Linked DNA regions of Homo sapiens: region 2 is linked to region 1. Evidence: promoter capture Hi-C in human tissues and cell types (Jung and others, 2019). All regions are on one chromosome and are shown on one strand. Each heading gives the region's core, a stretch centred on a gene start or on the middle of the fragment in contact. The rest is flanking DNA. Distances are from core to core; before and after follow the strand shown.

Evidence for each region. The method cuts DNA at HindIII sites, captures the fragments that hold promoters and counts their contacts. A contact is called where the count stands out against the background at its distance.
Region 2: a fragment that was not itself captured here is called in contact with the fragment with the promoter of EPHB6 in region 1 in 1 of the 25 tissues and cell types used here (spleen).

The regions. Positions count from the first base shown.
Region 1 is chr7:142,853,186-142,857,000 of GRCh38, forward strand. It overlaps EPHB6 (EPH receptor B6), which reads left to right and starts at 1,891. Exons shown (of 20, transcript NM_004445.6): 1 at 1,891-2,200. The HindIII fragment of the contact is 9,136 bases long and covers 1-3,815 here.
Region 2 is chr7:143,453,860-143,457,734 of GRCh38, forward strand. The region is part of intron 2 of EPHA1-AS1 (EPHA1 antisense RNA 1); the gene reads left to right. Among named protein-coding and RNA genes, the nearest start is that of TAS2R60, 12 kb to the left of the region's middle. The HindIII fragment of the contact is 5,522 bases long and covers 1-3,875 here.

The DNA.
Region 1 (3,815 bases), core at 641-3,140:
TTTGAAAACTAGATGCCTCTCAAATTTTATTAACAAGACAAATATAACTAATTACACAAGCCTTGAGCAGCAAAAACTTCATTTCATATTATAGTCACCTAATATGAGGTATATCATGAAATAGAAAAGAAGGCAGATATTTTTACTGTTATGTCAATACAGGATACGTTGCAAATTACTACAGGAATTTCTGGGTTTTATAAAGTAACAACTACGGTTTGGTTTTGTCCATATTTTTATTTTAACATAATCTAGTTATGTGTCTTTTTTTTAAGTTTTCAATATAACCATAGATGTCTAGCAATCAGGCATGTTAATGTATGAGTTACGTAATTCCACACACAATGCAAATTCTGTTTCTTTGCAGAAGTCTTTGAAAGCCTTGGAGATAACCAGAAAATGAAGGAAGCCCTCCACCACTGAGTTTCAGGGCAAAGGGAAGAAACAAGATAAAGTAGAACCGTCAGTACAAGTGGAATTATTAATGACGTCCAAATGCAGTCATTAAATACTATCAGACTTATTTATTGACTCCTGATATTAAGAGTGAACAAACCCCTGGCCAAGTGGGAACTTGCTCGGTAGCCTTTATCTTTCTATCACTCATTCAGTCAATTCATTAAAGCCTGTTTGTCTCTCCCAGGTGACTCTTACTGAGTTTCATTGTTTTGTTTATTGTGTTTGTTGGCTCATAGATCTCTTTCACAATTTTCTTCGGCTTCTGAATGCTCTTTAAGTACCAGTTTTGATCAGCCCATTTGCTTTAATAAACAGGAGAGCAAGATGGGACAGGGCGATACAGGGAGAAAAGGGGGCAAAGGGAATCGCACCGGGTGCTTGTGCTCCCTAGAAAAACCAGCAGGTGGTAGCAACACTTCGTGGCAAGGCCCCAGCCCAGCTCTGTAGGACCCAAACAATAGACCCCAAATCCCCGTCCTCGGCTAGAGAAGGGGTTAGAGGTGGGCGGAAACACTTTTCCTCGCGGCGCCCCCTCGGTTCCTCAACCCTGCCTCCAGGCGCCAGCTGAGAGCACCTTGCACCGCCCCTCCTCACTGCAGGGAGGTTCTCTCCGGAGCGCGGGCGAGGGAGGAGGCACCCAGAGGTGCAGCGACTTGCCCAAGCCATGTCAGAGCCAGGCGTACAGCAGCGCTTCCCCTTTTCAACCCGACTGCCCTGCCCCTTGGGGAGGGTAGATGGAGGGAGGTTCGACTCAGAAGCCCCAACGTTGACCAAGATCCAGACACGAAAAGAGAAAAGAGTTCCCGGCTAGCACGGCGACGCTTTCATACCGAGACGCCCCCCTCTCCCGCTGCCTCGGCTCCCCCTACCACCGCCCGTACTCTCCCAGATTTCTCAGTTTGTCTTTCCCTCCACCCCCTGCTTTTCCTTCCTTCTCTCTTGCTCAGCTCACGCCCACCTTAGTTCCAAGCTGAGTAGGAGCCCCACTGTTTTAGTTCCTAGAGTTAAAGCCGAAGAGGAGGGAGGCGCGAGGGGGTGTGTGCAGGGCTCTGCCCTGCCCTGAACTGCCACGGTCCGCCAGTTGCGCTTCGCTCCGCGGGTGTCCGACCCAAGCCGAGCCCGAGCCCGAGCCCAGGCAGGGGCTTTACAGACAGCCTCTTCCCTTCCCACTTCCTGCAGGCGCCCCACGCGTGCGATCCTCCCGGCCAAGACCCGCGGGAGGAGGCCGCCCCCTTCCCGGCGCACAGGCGGGGCCCCGGGCGCGCCCCGCGTCTCCCCCGCGCGCCGGGGCGGAGGAGCGGGCGCCGCGCACTCACCGCCTAGGCCGGGAGGGCGGGCTCGGCTCCCCGGAAGAAGGGAGTGGGAAGGCGGCCAAAGGGGCTGAAGGGGCGGGCCGGGCCGGCTTGGGAGGGGACGCGGAGGGGGCGGGCCGGGCTGCGTTCGCTCCAGCCGCGGCTCTACAGCAGCGGGCGGCGGGACCCGGGACCCAGCTTGGCGACGGCGATCTCGACGCGGGCCCCCAGGATCTCCCGGCGCCCCACCTCTGGAGCAGCCCCTGCCGCCAGCGTCAGGTCCACCCCGGAATCCCAGGGACTCTCGGCGCCGAACGGACCCGGGCCGGGTGCAACGGGGTCCCCGGACTGGAGAAGACGCGGGTGGCACCGTGCGAGCTCCAGGAGCCCCGGGTCCACTGCGAGGCCTCGGGGGGCGCAGACCTGCAGAGACTGCGGCCAACGGGAAGGTGAGCCCGCGGGGTTAGCAGGCGGCGTTGTGGGGGTCGGGGACAGTATGCTTGGGGACAGAGGAATTAAGGTTTGCAAGAGTAGTGGGGCTCCTCAGCCCCTAGGTGGCTTCCTGAGGGAGTACTGAGGATCCTTCCTCAAGGCCAGAGTGGGGTTCATGAAGGGTGAGGAAACGGTCAACCTGGCTACTCCCCTCTCACTCCACTCTGACCTGGCATCATTGACACCGCATTACCCTTGCTGTTAGGATCCCCCAGTTGCGTTCCCAGACATTCTCCTCTGGCTCTGGCTTGGGAGTCCTAATCTGGGAGGGTCCTCGCAGAGACGGAGCTCCACGCTTGGAACAGGATTGCCACCCCTCTGACTCCAGTGGCATCACTCCAATCCCCTTGGAGCTGGGAGGAGTCAGGAGGCTGACCACACACCTGTCCCCTGCTCCCCACAAGGCACTGTCCCCCCCAGCTCCATGACCACAGTTAAGCCTTGGAGGTGGAAGGAACGCTTGGTTCCTGCTGCCCAGCCATCACCCCCAACGTGCAACCAAATTCTATTGCGTGCTCCTGCCCCAGCTCCACCCTCGCTCTGCTCCCTCCATCTGGGTGCTTGGCCCTGCTTGCCCCACACCCCCACCCACCGATCTTGGCCGTCTGGCACCCTCTCTCCTCCCATCCCTGGGGGAGCTGGCATGGACCCAGCATAGCAATGTTGTAATGTCCCTGGCAGCGCCCATGGAGCGGAGCTGCTGGGTCTGTTCCCAGTTAACCCAGGCCCTCCGCCCGCCAGGGGAACTTGACTGAGGCTCTAGGAGGGGAGATGCTGGTCCTGAGCTGAGAGACCAGTGGGAGGGAGCTGTGTGGGGCTGTTAGTAGACCACAGAAGCTGCCCAAGTAAGGGGCATTGGAGCATTGAGGCTTCTGAGTGCTGCTCAGTGGGGCCACTTGGCTTTTCAGAGCAGTGGGCCTTTTTTCTCAAAGGAAGATTAGCGTGGGGGTGTCTATGTACTTACCTGGTGGCCTCAGAAGGAGGACTTGTTTGGAGTCTATTACTCCATTCAGGGTGCAAAAAGATGGTTGGCAATGACACTGAGTTACCAGAATGCTGGGGAGCAACAGGCTGGGGTGGGCTGAGCATGGGAAAGGCAGGATCCTCCTTCTGGGACGGCTGTTCTGCTATCACTCTGTCCTGAGCCTGGGCCCTAGACCCTGAGTTCCCACTCTAGGTAGAAGGAGGATGGCAGGTTCTGGAGGGTTTGGGAAGCCTCAGGTTTCCCTTTCTTTACCCACTCCTCCCCGCCCCCCACTTGGCTCCCTCTCCCAGCCCAGGTGTTTCTGCAGAAGTACCTCCTGGGGCCAAGAGCAACTCACAGCCAGACTGGGGGTAGAGCAGGGGCCGAAGGTGAGGAAGAAGGGCCCATGGAACCACTCCGGAACCAGCACTGATGTGCATCTTCTGCCACAGGAAAGCAACAGCCCCCATCTACACAGACAGCATCTGCTCCCGCCCACCTCATCTCATACACATTCCCTTACACACTCCACCAGGTAGACACACATCCTCAGGCACTGCTGACGCAGGTGCTACTCCTGGCACTCAGGGGCTTTCTTCCACAACCTT
Region 2 (3,875 bases), core at 1,287-3,786, 600 kb after region 1:
TTATATCTAAAACTGAACTCCTGATATTCTCTGACCTCCCACTCCAACATGCTTCTCTCACTATTTTTTCTGTTTCTGCCACTCCGTTCTTCTAGTTTCTCTGGGCAAAACCTTTTGCATTCCATGAAGAATCATTCAGCAACCCTGATGCTAGACCATTTAACCTAGAGCTAAAGCATTGGTAGATGACCTGCTTCTGGGTTGTGGTTTCATATGGAGAAAGCTGTCCTTTCACTCCAGTCTTTTGAAAGCCAGACCTTGACACAAGGGTTTGAAAAAGTCAGGGTTAGAGTTGAGGTTGTTAACTCAACCTTCAAAATGAATCTGTAACTCTACTGCTTATCACCACCTCCATTGCTACTGCTCTGGTGCAAGCCACTATAACTCTAGCTTGGATTATTGCAATGGCTTCCTAACTGGTTTTGCAGCTTCTGCTCTTGTTTGCCTTTGGTCTATTTCCAATACAACAAGCCAGCAGGATCCCTGAAAAATATAAATCATATCATGTCACATCTCTTTCATAATTCTGGATTTGCTTTTCATCCTAGAGTAAAAGCTTAAGTCTTCATAATGAACTAAAATGCCCTCTATAATCCATGTGCCCTATCTCATGTTTCTGAAGTCATCTGTTGCTGTTTTACCCTCCTCTCACACTGAGCTCATCCCTTTGGCTTTCTCGATGTTCCTTGAATTTGTCCAAAGTCTTTGCATTCTCTGTGCTTGGAATGCTATTCCCAGATATTAGCATGGCTCACTCCCTCACTTATTTCAGGAATTGTCATTGCTACTCTATCTAAATTGCAATACCCTGTACTACTATTCCCTGTCCTGTTTTTTTCTCCTTAGTATTACCACTATCTCTTTTACTTATTTATATTTTTTATGGTTTATTTCCCCCACTCTAATGTAAGCTTCTCGAAGACAGGGATTTGTGTCTGTTTTGTTTTTACTGGCAAATTGTAGGCACTCAATAAATATTTGCTGAACACATGCATACATTATTTTATTATAATTAACTAGACTACTATTATTATGCAACAGGTCATCATTTCTATGCTTGTAGAAATGGGCGTGGCTGCTAGAAGCTGGATCATCAATTGATATTCTCTTACACATTCAGAAACTGGTGATTTTGCTGGTTCACTGATACAACACTGAGCCTCCACATTTTTCACAGTTGTTGTTAGAGACGAGTAATTGCTTCCATGTTCATATACATCTTAACAAGCATTTATTGATCACTTTGATATGGAGGTCTAGGTGTACATCCCTGCTAAGTGCAATGGGGTTATAAAAGTAGGATCTTAACATTCAAGAAATTTACCATGCAACATATATACACCAGTTAAAGGAGTACGAAGCAGTGAAGAGCTGAAGTGACCACTAATGAAGTATAATATAATAGTTCATATTTGACCCTAGTACTGAGAGAATTATAAAATGGAAACTAATCGGATACAGTCCATTATTTAGTATTACTTATTTGTAATATTTTGCTGCAAATTTTGTACTTTTCAAATACTTGATATTGGGGTTTCTGTTTATCTTTGATAGTAATCTATTAGGTTCGACATTTCTTAAAGTCATGCATGGCCTCCTTTTCTGAACTCTTGTATACTTAGGCCCATATCGCTGGCCACTCTATTGTGATTCACTCAAGTGAATGGGGGTAATCTTGAGATTAAAAAAGTCACAAGAACAAGACCTCAGATAGGAGGAGGGTTGTGAGGGAAACTGGATCTTTGAAGTGAAATCAGAATTGTGAGGCAGAGAGGGAGCTTCTGCTCATGGGGTTGGCCTCTGTCACAGGCTTGTAATGATTCTGAGTTTCAATGGTGTGGATGGCTGGCCTTGGTGACAGATAAAAGCTTTCGAAACTGGGCTTCAGCAGTAGGCAGCTGAATGCATTTGGAACTTTAGTTAGCTGAGCTGACTGATGCATCTTTTAACTATAAATAATACTTGTTCTGGACTATAGTGATGGAAATCGAAGGCTAGTTGGGGGTAGGGGACTGTGTGTGGGGACAGTTCTTTTTGAAAACTTTTATTTTTCTTTCAGTAAGCCAAACAATTTTTAAAAAGAGGTTGAATAAACTATTTAAAATACACTATTTACATGATACTTTCATTATCTATTTTGCTCAAGGTGATTTTTTTAAAATATGAAACTGCTCCTATGTACTCAGATTGTTATACCTTTTACATCAAAACTAAATTGCAATAGTTTGTTTGTTTGGTTTTGAGATAAGTTCTCACTCTGTTCCCCAGGCTGAGCATAGTGGTGCAATCGTGGCTTACTGCAGCTTCAAACTCCTGGGCTCAAAGGATCCTCCCACCTCAGCCTCCTTGAATAGCTGAGACTATAAGCGCATACCACCATGCCCTACTAATTATTTTTCATTTTTTGTAGAGATGTAGTTTTGCCCTGTTGCGCAGGCTGTCTCAAACTCCTGGTCTGAAGTGATGCGCCTGCCTCAATCTCTCAAAGTACTGAGATTATAGGCATGAACCACCGTGCCCAACCAAGTGCAATGTTTTTGAGGACAAGATAGATTTCTGCCTCCAGTGGCAGTATAATTTTCATAAAATAAGGGATTAGGACTTTACTTTTAAAAGTTGGTGGCTTCCAAATCTGCTGACAAACTCCTTGAGGGGCTATGATTTGGGTCCACACCAAAAGCAGCATCTGTTTAATTCTGTAGGGATCAAGTACAAGAAGACTGTTGTCTTTATTGTTGGAAAGTTTCAAATGGAGAAGAAAAGTAGCTGATCCAAATTGGTCCACATTGGACCAGCTACTTTAGAGTTGGGAAGCATTTAAATTTTAACTCCTCTGTACTATAATTGAGGAATCTGTAAGAAAGTTGGGGGAAAAGCTGTATTTCTCAAGTTAAAGCCAATGGCTTATATTTATCCGAGTCAATAACATTACATTTTCCATTATCTGTGTTTGGGAATTTTTATTACAGGTATTCTTATGGTGAAGTTTTACTGATCCATTATTTTTTAATTTTAGTTTTGAAAAATGTCACCACCAACCTGTGGTGATGGGACCAGATATATTCAGGGGTTCCAACAAGTAAGAGTGAAAATGTCTTTGTATGTACAACATACTCTGCAGACATTCCAGTAGCCCACGGCTTTAGGTGAGGAGGATCATGAAGATGAAAATGTATACATGTTTCTTCTCAACATTTCCAAGCTAAATGCAAGCTTTACTGCTTCTATCATAGCATCTATTTAAAGTTTTGCCAACTCAGTCTCCTTGAATAACCAAATATTGAAAGCATCTGTACCAAAATATGTAGTGACACATCAAGATTATTTTAAAAAGGAAAAGCAACTAACCTCATTCATTCAACAAATATTTCCTTTGTGCCACTATGTGGGGGATGCAGGGGTTGAAGAAGATCCTTGTCCATTGAGAGAACAACGTGTGTCTCCCTATAAAACAAAGAGAAGTGTCTGAAATTAAAGCATGTATTTAAGTGATTAAGACCTTATACTGTGTTCAGCAAACATTCTTTGAGCAAATCCTTTTGAGAATCAGAAGATGAATGATCATGAACACTTTGTGAGGAAGAATCAATGAGTCACAGGTGCTGATGAATGAAAGAATCATAAACTTTAGAAATTCTTAAACATTTTTACTAGAGCAGTGAAAGAGAGAAATATTGCATAGTCTTGGCTATAAAGAATGTATAGTCCTTCAGATACAATGAGCAGCTCAGTAGTTGCTTGTGGAACATTTTACAACTACAGAATGACCCAGAGGCAGAGCCACGTGCCTTGCTGCAGTTGCAGGTACATGCACTCAACAGCATGTCCATGAACCCTGTTCTCTTCTGGAGGGTCTACGTGGCAGAAGCTCTGGC